Linked DNA regions of Homo sapiens: region 1 is linked to region 2. The links are contacts of gene promoters, found by promoter capture Hi-C in blood cells and fetal thymus (Javierre and others, 2016). All regions are on one chromosome and are shown on one strand. Each heading gives the region's core, a stretch centred on a gene start or on the middle of the fragment in contact. The rest is flanking DNA. Distances are from core to core; before and after follow the strand shown.

Region 1 (6,239 bases), core at 1,982-4,481, 980 kb after region 2:
AAAATAAAAGTTGAAGGAAAAAAGAAAAGAGAAACAAAAAGACCCCAAAAGCAAATGCAACAAAAAGAAAAATAAATAAATGGGACCTAAATTAAACTAAAAACTTTTGCACTACAAAAGAAATAATCATCAGAGTAAACAGACAACCCACTGAATAGCAGAAAATATTTGCAAACTATGCATCCAACAAAGGACTGATATCTAAAATCCACAAGGAACCCACACAAATCAGCAAGAAAAAAAAACCCAAATAATCCCATCAAAAAGTGGGCAAATGACACAAATAGACACTTCTATAAAGAAGATATACAAATCACCAATAAACATATAAAAATGTTCAACATCAGTAATCATCAGGGAAATGCAAATTAAAATCACAATTAGATACCACTTTACCCTAGGTACACTGAATATTACTAAAAAGTCAACAAACAATAGCTGTTGGCATGGATATGGTGAAAAGTGAACACTTTTACACTGTTGGTGGGGACGGAAATAGAGGTTGTTAGTACAACGTCTATGGAAAATAGTACGGAGATTTCTCAAAGAACTAAAAGTAGATCTAACATTCGATCCAGCAATCCCACTACTGGGTATCTATCCAAAAGAAAAGAAGTCATTATATCAAAAAGACACTTGCACATGTATGTTTATCACAGCACAAATCACAGTTGAAAACATATGGAACCAACCTAAGTGCCCATTAACTGATGAGTGAATAAAGAAAATGTGGTATGTATACACACACACAAACACACAGACGATGGAATACTACTCAACCATAAAAAAAATGTATTTTCAGCAACATGGATGGAGCTGGAGGCCATTATTCTGAATGAAGTAACTCAGGAATGGAAAGCCAAATACCTTATGTTCTCAATTATAAGTGGATACTAAGCTATGGGTATGCAAAGGCAGACAGAGTAGTATAATGGACACTGGAGACTCAGAAGCAGAGAGGGTGGGAAGGTGTGGGGAATAAAAAGCTACATATTGGGTACAATGTACACTACTCAGATGTTAGGTGCACTAAAATCAGACTTCACCACTATACAATTCATCCTTGTAACCAAAAACCACTTGTGCCCCAAAAGCTATTGAAATAATATATATTTATACATAATAAAATTCAAAAATTATCCCAGAACAGTATTTCTAAAGGTTGCCAAATAATTCACCTGCCAAAGATCCATATCTTATCATTTATTTACTCACTGTCTTATCACACATTTAGCTCTTCGTATTTCATTACCATTAATAAAGTACAATGACTATCATCTTTGTACATAATGATTTGGGAATGTACGTTAGTTGGTAAGATTATACAATAAGGATATCAATTTTGTATCATGTATATTGTAAAGTTTTCCAACTTTATCATTGTCTGTTTATTTATTTATTTATTTATTTATTTATATTTTTGAGACGGAGTCTTGCTATGTCACCCAGACTGGAGAGAAGTGGCGCGATCTCGGCTCACTGCAAGCTCTGCCTCCTGGGTTCACGCCATTCTGCTGCCTCAGCCTCCCCAGCAGCTGGGACTACAGGCGCACACCGTCAAGCCCGGCTATTTTTTTTGTATTTTTAGTAGAGACGGGGTTTCACCGTGTTAGCCAGGATGGTCTCGTTCTCCTGACCTCATGATCCGCTCGCCTCGGCCTCCCAAAGTGCTGGGATTACAGGCGTGAGCCACCGCCCCGGGCTGATTGTCTTTTTAAAATAAAACTTACCGAAAAGGTAATATATTTCATGTATCAAAAACCAAATAGAAGAAGCATAAAGTATCTATTCCAGCTTAATCTCCCATCTCCCCAGTTCCCACCTTCTCCACCCACACAGTTAACTATTTTTATTCATTTCTTCTGTAAACTTTGTGTGTGTTTACATAAGGAGATAGCCCCCACCCACTTTTTCATATAATTTGTAGCATACAATATACACTTTTTGTTTCTTTTCTTTTCTTTCTTTCTTTTTTTTTTTTTTTTTTTTAAGATGGAGTTTCCCTCTTGTTGCCCAGGCTGCAGTGCAGCGGAGCGATCTCGGCTCACCGCAATCTCTGCCTCCCGGGTTCAAGTGATTCGCCTCCCTCAGCCTCCCGATTAGCTGGGATTACAGGCATGCGCCACTATGCCTGGCTAATTTTGTATTTCTTTTTTTAGTAGAGACGGGGTTTCACCATGTTGGTTAGGCTGGTCTTGAACTCCCGACCTCAGGTGATCCACCCGCCTCGGCCTCCCAAAATACTGGGATTACAGGAGTGAGCCACAGCACTAGGCACAATATACACTTTTTAAGTCACTTAAAATATATCTCACTGGTCTTTCCATGTCAGTACATTGAACACTTCCTTGTTATTTTTTGTAGCTTCATTGTATGGTTGTACCATAATTTATTTAATGTGTTGCTCTGATGATAGACATTAAGGTTTTGCTCTTACAAACAATGCTTCAGTAAACAACCTGGCACATATTTTTTTAAAATATATACAAATACCGGCATGTCTGTGGGATAAATTTCCAGAGGTTAATTTGTTTTGTTAGAGCCTTATGCATTCATAAGTTGATAGACGCCCTAAATTGCCTTCAACATGTGTGCCAAATTATACTGTCACCAACAATGTGTCAAAATTTCCCATAGCCTTGCTAACAGTATTTTATCAATTTTTTGGGTGAATTTTTTTGTAATTACAATTGGTGAAAAAATAGTCACATATCTTTGATTTTTAGTAATGGGTTTCCAGCTTAAAATGGTCTTTAATAAGCAGTACTTGATGTTGCCTTTCTTGGCTTCTGACTAATATACAAAAGAAGATCCAGAAGAGGAGGAAAGCTTGCAGTAACTCTGAAAAGTAAGACTGAGAATGAACCCATTGCCAGAATATATGAAACATTCCCATAAATTCTAAATTGAGTGATGTAGTACCCAATTATTGAATACTCACTATATGTGGAGGAACGTATATCTGTCTGTGTACACACACACACACACACACACACACTTCATCATTTCTCCCTTGGAACTCTTCATAATGATCCTGTGAGGATGTGAAATTATGAGCCATATTTGACAAGTGAAGAAACTTTGTCTTGGAAAACTGAAGTGACTGACTTGCCTAAGGCCATGTAATAAGAGGCACATCTGAGGTTCAAACACAGGCATGCCAGACTCCAAACTATAATAGAACTCTTTTCAGTATTTCACATGCTTTATCCCTCTCACACTTTGATTCCTGGCTCAGCAACAGAAAAGTTATACCAGTCAGAAAATTTGCCATCTCCCTCAAAACTTTATTAGCACTGATATCTGAGGTAGTTCAAAACACCTTTCCTTTTTCTATTCCTTCCCACAGATAGTATCTTCCTTTCTATGTCAATAAAGAAACTAGAAGTTGGAAACTCAAAGTGTATGTGCAAGATAGGAGGCTAGATGTAGAAGTGACAATAGGGTTGCAGCTGGCAGCCCATTGCATTCTGGCAAGTGGAGAAGATAACCCAATATAATAATAATGGTTAATATAGATTGAGCTTTTACAGTGGTCAGGGACTTCGCTAAGTGTTTTCCAGGCATTAGTTTATTACAGCAGATTCTTGGGGTAGGTAATATTATTATTCCCTCATTCTAGATGAGGAAATGGAAGCTTGAATAAGTGAAATTACTTGCTGGGATGTTTGTAAAAAGATCTTTGCTCTGGAAGTCAGGAGGCTTCTGTGATACTGCTGCTAGTTTACTTTATAATTTTGTATAAGTGGCTGTCCCTTTCCTTGCTTCAGTGTCTGAACCTGGAATTTTTTATGCGGTTTTTGAGACTCTAAGTTCATTGGGGTGGAATTTGGAAGGGTGGTCAAGCATGAATAGGACTAGAAGGGAACACAAATATTTTTTGCTCAAGACATTAGTCTCAGCTGTACCTCCATATGTCTTTTCCCTGCTTTACCCCTTCCTACTTGTTCTCTTGCTCATGGCACTCATTCTCTTCCCTAGTTGTAGATTTAAGTTAAGTCCAGTAGGAACTTGACACACTCAGAAAATGGATGAAAACCCAAGGGGATGCTACTTTTGGGACCATTGTCTGAGCTTTTTTGGGTTACTGCCACCTGTCACAGTTTAAGAGATGTGGAGAGCCACTCATGGCTGTCAGAGGCTGTGTCAAGGAAACAATATTCTGGTAATGATTTTTATTTACCATGAGGGTTTGGTTTCCTCTTCTGGTGTCTACTTGGACTTCCCTAAGAATTAGTTACCTTGGTTCTTGGGCTTGGCATCAGCCCACAGAGCATGGAGCCAATCAAGTACCATAAGTCCTGCAGAGATTTAAATTTCCTGGTGGCAGCATTTCTGGCACAGGCTTATGTTTTCCTATGGTTACTTAAGCCCTTTATTAATGCACTCTGAGTTTCTCTCATGGTTTGGCTCCTCAAGAAGTCAGGCAGTAGCGTTCAAGGTATGGGGAAGGTATCAGGTCAAGACAGAAATATTTGGCAGCTTTAGGGATTTTCTGTTTCCACTCTTAAGGTGTGCCCTGAATAAGAGCTGTAGAAGAGTCATCTGGGGCTGACTTCTTTGAGGCCCCAAAGAGTCTGGCCTGGGCTTCAAGGAATCTGAGTCCTAGGGTATGCTCAGCCACGAACTCCCTGGGTGACCTTAGGCAGACAAATTCATTTCCCTGAATCTCTGTTTCCTCAAACATCTTCCATCTCAAACATTCTATAATTCATGAAAGCTGAATAGTACTGGAAATTCTTCTGCTCAGTATGATAATGATTTGAGCAGAGAAATGAACAGGCTGGGTAAAGTGTGACCTTCCCAGGGTACATAAAATGTTTTTCCAATTAAATGAACATTTCCTAAATCAGTTCCCAATTAGTGGAGCCAGTGTGTGTTAGCCTTGTGATGGGGCTGCATAAATAGCAATTCAGAATCCAGGAAGAAAGTGGCCAATAGGCCCACTCTGCTTCTTACCTGTCATAGCAAAAAAGGAGTATGGTGCTCAGAGCCGATCATCACATTTTAGAGAGGACACCATGAGGCTGGAGCTATTTCAGGGCCGTAGCTAAGGTGATGAGGGAACTCTGAACTGTGTCATATGAGGAAGAGCAGAATGGCCTGGGGATAAGTAACCAAGAGAAGACCTCCAGCAACATCTTGGCCCCTGGTTTTGGCTCCTATGGGGAAGAGGGTGTATTAGTTTGTTTTCTGTTGCCTATCAAAGAATGCCTGAAACTGGATAATTTATAAAGAGAAGGAATTTATCTCCTACAATTATAGAGGCTGAGAAGTCCAAGTTTGGGGGCTGTATCTGGTGAGGGCCTTCTTGCTGGTGGGGACTCTCTGCAGAGTCCTGAGGTAGCATTAATAAAGGGCATAAGGAACTCCAGAAAAACATCACATGGTGAGAGGGCTGAGTGTGCTTGCTCAGGTCTCTCATCCTCTTCTTATAAAGCTACCAGGTCCACTGCCATGACGATCCATTAATCCATTAATCCATGAATGGATTGATCCATACATAAGGGCAAAGCCCTCATAACCCAAACACTTCTTAAAGGCCCTATCTTTCCATACTGCCACATTGAAGATTAAGGTATAACACATACAATTTTGGGGACACATTCAAACCATAACAGAGGTGTGTTGTGGGGAAAATGGAGTGACTTCAAACCTGACCCAATAGCTATACTGCAGGTTCAGTAAATAGATGCTACCAAGGGACAGATTTCACACCAAAGTTCAGGAAAAATTTCAGAGTAAAATCAGTTTTATGTGGAATTAGATGGTTATAGATCTATAAACCAGAAGAAGATAATCTGAATTTCAGCTGGAGGAAATTTTGGACAAAAGCCTGGATCTGTTTAAGGGCACGGTCCTTGCACTGTTTGACCTCTAGGGAGAAATACAACTGAATTTGTACAAATGATGGGTGCACCAGGTAGCAGATGAGAGTGTTTTGACAAAGTGAGCTACTTAACCATGTATGGGAGTGCTAATGCATCTCTCTCTTAAGTATGTGTGAAAGCCCTAATGAAACTTCAATAAATACTCCTGAGACTTCATTGGGAGAATAGAGATGGAGGTCTTGAAATATTGCATGGGAGTGAAATAAGAGAGATATTACATTTTCAGGGACCTCTCCAAAATTCCAATAATATAAACTTTTATGTTTAACTTATGGGTTTAATTAATCTCCACATCTCAAATATCATTAATTCTGGAATAGAGCAAGGCATGTCACTTTACAGTTAATA
Region 2 (6,311 bases), core at 3,310-5,809:
TACAGGATCTGATGTCCAAAAGAACAAGTTATGTGTCCAAGATAATTAACAGTACAAATAGAGCTCAGGCGGTCAAGTGTCCTGGTCCAGTGTTCATCCCACAATACCAAGTTATGCCCTTTGCACACCAGTTATTTCATTATTTTTAACATTTAGAAATAAAAATCTTTTAAGTCATCTGTATTTTCTTTACAGTAAGGCTTACTCCTACCTCAAGACCTCTTAATAGTATTCAATATCATTCCTTCCAAGCTTACTGTGTGAGAACAATGTAGGGGACAATTAAAAGCCGTGTTGAAATCAAGATAGACTGTCACTCACTCATATGAATAATTGGTTTGGTATGTCTTGCTCTTTTCAAAACCAAGCTGGCTGCTTCCTAACAGCTCGTATTTTTCTAATGACAGCAAATTATTGTTTAATAATTTTAAAAGTCTTTATTGGTCTCCTAATAAAAGGACTATGCTTTTAACATTTGTGTCCCCCTAAAATTCCTATATTGAAACTTAATCACCAATGTGATGGTATTAAAAGGTGGAGTCATTGGGAGGTGATTAGGACTTGGAGAGTAGAGCTCTCATAAACAGGATTAGTTCCCTTATAAGAGGGGCCAAAGAGCTGCCTTGTCTCTTCTACCACATGAGGACACAGCTAAAAGGCACCGCCTATGAACCTCAAGACCTCACCAGACACTAAATCTGTCAGCACCTTGAACTGTGAGAAATAAATTGCTCTTGCTTATAAGTCATGTAGTTTATGGTATTTTGTTATACCAGCCCAAACAGACTAAGATAGACTATTAGTCTAAGAAATTATTTCTCATATGCACATTAAATCCCTCTTCCTGCAAATGAAGTCCACATCTTTGTATCATAACCTAATGTTCCAGTTAAGTTTAGGCATCACTGAACTACAAATAACCCCTTCAGGTCCTTTTTTTTTTTTCTTTTTTTTGAGAGGAAGTCTCGCTCTGTCGCCCAGGCTGGAGTACAGTGGCGCGATCTCGGCTCACTGCAACCTCCGCCTCCAGGGTTCAAGCAATTCTCCTGTCTCAGTCTCCTGAGTAGCTGTAGTCACAGGTGCACGTGACCATGCCCAGCTGCTTTTTGTATTTTTAGTATGGACGGGGTTTCACCATATTGGTCAGGCTGGTCTCGAGCTCTTGACCTCAGGTGATCCACCTGCCTTGGCCTCCTAAAGTGTTAGGATTACAGGCATGAGCCACTGGGCCAGGCCGCTTCAGGTACTTTAAATGTCACTGAATCACCTCTCACCCTTTTCAGTTCCATGATCTATAATCCACTTAAAGACACCCTTATTTCTCTTGTAAGTTCTGTTTTTGTTGTTGTTGTTTGTTTGTTTGCTTGTTTTTGAGACGGAGTCTTGCTCTGTCGCCCAGGCTGGAGTGCACTGGCGCGATCTTAGCTCACTGCAAGCTCCGCCTCCCGGGTTCACGCCATTCTCCTGCCTCAGCCTCCCGAATAGCTGGGACTACAGGAGCCCGCCACCATGCCCGGCTAATTTTTTTTGTATTTTTAGTACAGACGAGGTTTCACCATGTTAGCCAGGATGAATAAGTTCTGTTTTCTATTCTTTTAGTATATTTTGGGACGACTGTTGAATAATCACTGTAGTTTCTTCATAGGCATCTTATATTGTTAAATTTAAATATGAACTAGAACCTCTAAAATATAGAATAGGAGGATTATTTCCCTAGTGTTGTTATTATATTCCCACTTCAGTTAATATGAAAGCCAGGAGTAAAGTATTTTAATTTTTATCTACTCTGCTAACTCTTAGCAGCCAATGGTGGAAGAGTAGGAAGGTGGAACTTGCTACTGGGAGAAATTAAAGCTCCCATTCTTGGTCCATGAGGTCAGACCAACAAATGAAAACAAAACAGTACCTATCCAAAAGAACTACCATATTCCACAACCCAGGTCTAGGGCATATACTGGGTGAGAAATACTTACAATGAATTCCAGTAATCACATACATGTGGGACTGTGTGTGTGTGTGTGTGCGTGTGTGTGTGTGTATATATATATATAAAATATATATGTGTGTGTGTATATACACATAAAAGTTCATGAAACAATACTTCACTTAAGATGTAAAAAGCACTGCTATTTTCTTTATATTCTACTGAATTTCATCTAAAAAAGTGCTAATCCAACCCACTAACATTATTTCATAACACTGCTCTAAGGTTCCTTTCAGCTCTAAAATATTATGCTATATACTAATGATCGTCCTAAAAGTATGAATTCAGTAATTATTTTGTAATCTTAATCACAAGTCACAAATTTGCAGGTACCTCAGGTTACCTCAGCTTCTACTTTGAAAACTTTGTAATCATTCCTTTCTCACCCTGTTTTAAAAAAAGGATGGCAAGAGTTCCATGCCTTTAAGAAACAGAAAACAAAGGTAACATCTTTCCCTTGTTTTGCACACTGAGGAAATGGTAACTAAAGGAAATGGTAGGATGTAAAGGACAGAGTGGAAGAAGGAAGTTGTGGAGATAGCGTTCATGGAAAGAGAGAAAGCTAAATTTGTATTGCCATTGCCTCCTCTGAGATTCCTAATAACTTCTCCTTTTCCCTCTTCCCCCTCATTCTTCCAGCTTAAGAAATTTTATCTTAAGATATCTAATTTTATCTAAGATAACATTTACAAATTTTATCTTAACTTCATCTGCCTTATTGGAGAACTACAGAACAAAAACCATTCCCAAGAGATCATGTGTTAGAAACTTTCAACCATAAAATACTTTAAAAACCTTAATGAAATCATCTAGATTCGCTTCGTTAGCCTAATCTGCTATTTCCTATCTTGAATGACTCACTACAGTCTAAACTACGTGCAGTTCTAGAAAAGGTCCATGTTCTCTCTGACTTGTGGGCCTTTGCACATGCGATTCCTTCTTTAACTGGCTAACTTCTAATTTTTCAGCTCTTGCCTTAGATATCAGTTACTTAAGGCAATCTTCACTACCTTACAATTAGACTTAATACCCCTCACATATACTGTCCCATACCTTGTACCTTTCCCATTATTACACAGCTCCACTATATTTTAATTGCCGATTAATTTACATATTTCCCACTAGATTTTAAGCTCTTTAAAGACAGGACTTATATTTTGTTTGCTCCTGTAGAGGTGTTCAATAATTACTGAATGAATTATAAATGTCATTCCATCAGCCTTCCACATGCTTAGTGTCATTCCCTATTCTCCCTGTTCAGAACATTCTCCCCAGTTCTATCACCAGCATGAAATACTCTTTATAACCTGGTCCTTAATTATCACTATTTCCTCTGGATGCCTATAGCCTTTATTGTACATACTATTCATTTGCTAATTAACCCACCACTGTGTTTTTCAGTTATTTTTGTAATGCATAGATCCAATCTCCTTAACTAAACTGTACAATCCTTGAAGGCATAACTGTATGTCTCTCTTAGTACCCTATCATCTAGCACAGGGCTATGTACAAGGTAGACGTTAAATATTTGTAGATGAAGAATCAAAATTTAAGAGGTTGTTTCTCATACAAAACTGACAATATTTTAAAGTGATAGTGATAAATACGTGGTGGCAATTAAACCTCTTGTCAATACACAGAAAATAAAAAGATATACTTTAGTACAGTTAAGTACAAATAATTTTTTAAAAAACCGTTCCTGAGTGAGAGGTAATAATGGACTCAAATTTTAGGAGGCACTACAACCATAGCTACATTCATAAGTTAAGGATAAGTAGCCTATGGCTTCCAAAATGACCTGTGCACAGAGAACATCACTGTATTTTTCAGATCTAGGACAGTCATATTTATACAAGAATTTAGGGCGGTCTATGTTTTGGAAAGATAGTTACGGTTTTGGCCTATCAAGAAGCACGCCTGTCAGCAAGGGAGTTAACTGGCGCCACCTGTTTATAGATAGCTTGCTGTCATTACAGTGCTCTCCGAATTGCTAATTCCAACTGAGTAAAATCTGAACCACAGATAAACTGTCCCAAATTCCATTACTAATTGGGGAAAATAATCCAGTCTTCCTCGTCTTTAGAAAGGCAAGCAGGCTGGGAATGGTGTCTACCCCAACTCTTAATATGAGAGAAAAACTATGACTCCGAGAGCCTCCAGCGCTCCAGGTGTCCTCTGCCCAGAACCTCCTGCCCCGTTTCCCTTTGCTGAACTCAAAGGTTTTCTTCTTCGCCCTTTCCTCAAATTACTGACGTTAATTTCCTTCACTTACTGCTGCTCCCAGTTAGCCATGACTTTCTTCTTGGTGCTCTCTCTGCCCCGAGGTCAGGAGGGCAACCTTTTCCCTACAGGTCCCCTTGCCCTTCACCCTATTCTTCCATGTCAGTGGCATCTCACCTGGTAGGCTCGAGCGGTTCCCAAGGCGCCGAGTTGATGTGGCCTCCACTGCGGACCTGAGCCGCTAACAGAGACTAAAGGCCGGATCAGAATCGCGGAGTGCCGGCGCTTTTCGAAAGCAGCCGCCGCGGCCGCCCAGCGCCAAGAATGCATCGCGAGCAGCGCCATCTTGAGCGAGGAAAGAGGAACCGAGAGAAGAGGATTATGGGACACTGGCGGACTGAATTCGGCTACCTTAATTGTCTCTCCTCTTCTTGTTTTCCCAGGGCCCCAGACCGGAAATGGATTCTGTTTGAAGATTCGGATGCATTCGCACAGCCTCTTTTATTTGTTTTTCCTTAGGGCCGAGCTTTGATTGTTTTCCTTACACAACCGGGAATATTGGAGTAACACTGTATTTTTCTCTTTTCCTGGAGTTGCCAGATGAAATACAGGATGCCTACCTAGTTAAGTTTCAATTTTACATAAACAACGAATCATCTCTTCGTGCGTGTGTCCCAAATATTGTATCTGCTAAATCTGTCAACCCCATCTTGTCTCTCATAATACTCTCTTACCTCCTCCAACTCAATGTCACGCTCCCCTCTCTCCATTTTCCCTATGCATATTCTTATCTTCACTCCCTTCTGAATTAAGGAAAGATTAAACTACAGACGTTAATTTCCCCTGGGAGGAGGCTTCAGCTGTAAGATTTACTGCTTTTCTGTCCTGTAAGGACTTTAACTTTGCTGATTGTTCTCTGTTGCGCAAACCTTGGGGCAGTTTTCCTTTGGTCTGTTGCTCGTGGGACAGTCTCACACACACACACACACACACACACACAGAGAGACTACAGACATCTTTACTAATTTTGTCACTCTTTCTAGCTCTTCGCTTTGGTTTTTGCAGCGTCCCTAATTCTTGAAAAATCGCTTAGGTTGGCTGAAGGGTGGTAAAGTGAAATGTATGGAGAGAAGACCATGTTTAAAGACAGGCTTATATTCTTTTGTCACCACTATTATCAAACAAAATGTCAAAATATGTTTACAGTTATCTAGGAAACTGCATTTCCAGTTGTAAATGTTACCTGAAACCCCGGAGACAATAATGCAGTTGCAATTTTATATTCACTGCTGCATTCTCCAACTTTTCACACAAAAGAGACAAATAATTATGGACTTCTTATGAAGAGGTACTTTGGACTAGTAAGTCTGATAAAGAAAAACAGAAATCTGTAGCCCATGCAGTTAGCTTTTTTGTTCTGGGATTCATTCAAGGGGATGCTTGAGCTAGTTATTTAAAGAAAAATAGAATTCAAGTTGAAGAGGTTGACTGGAATTACACGTAAAGAAGATGACATGTTAAAAGCAAGAAGGCATAAGAAAATATTTTCAGGTTCAGGAGTCTATGGAGTTTGGGAAAGTAGTAGGAGGTTAACCTGAGTGAACAGAGACCTGATGGTAAAGGGCCTTCTATTTCATTCTAAGAAGTTAATACTTTATCCTATAACCAGTGAAGAGTTTTAATCAGGAGAGTAACATGATCAGATTTATATGTCCATTAAGCTACTCTGGCTTAAGTGAGAAGGTTGGATTGGACGGAGTTCATATTGAAGTCATGAAGTTAATGCAATAGTTCAGTCATAAAATAAAGGCCTCAACCTAGCAGTAGCAGTGGCAGTAGATCGATTGCAGGGCAATTAGGAGATGGAATTGGCAAGACTTAGTGACTAATTGGATGTTTCTAGCTTATTATTGTATTGTTGACAGTAGATCAGTAATGGCTTCATATTAATGACTATATTGTCATCAACAAATATTTATTCAGCATCTATTCTGTGTTAGACAGCTACAGTATACATTAGAGAAACTCTAGACTCTACTAATGATTTCTCTTAGGGCTGAATATTGCCACTGAATCTTACCACCCAGTTGTAAAGTCTTTGAATGGA

The links. Contacts are between HindIII fragments. The CHiCAGO score rates a contact against its expected background, and 5 or more counts as called.
Region 1: a fragment that was not itself captured here is called in contact with the fragment with the promoter of ABCB7 in region 2 in 5 of 17 cell types (total B cells, total CD4 T cells, naive CD8 T cells and 2 more); the score reaches 8.6 in total B cells.

Annotation. Positions count from the first base shown.
Region 1 is chrX:76,133,925-76,140,163 of GRCh38, forward strand. No RefSeq gene overlaps it. Among named protein-coding and RNA genes, the nearest start is that of PBDC1, 36 kb to the right of the region's middle. The HindIII fragment of the contact is 808 bases long and covers 2,828-3,635 here.
Region 2 is chrX:75,151,724-75,158,034 of GRCh38, forward strand. It overlaps ABCB7 (ATP binding cassette subfamily B member 7), which reads right to left and starts at 4,560. Exons shown (of 16, transcript NM_001271696.3): 1 at 4,382-4,560. The coding sequence starts at 4,549. It also overlaps a transcript of UPRT not described here. RefSeq lists an enhancer at 4,241-4,670. The HindIII fragment of the contact is 6,846 bases long and covers 251-6,311 here.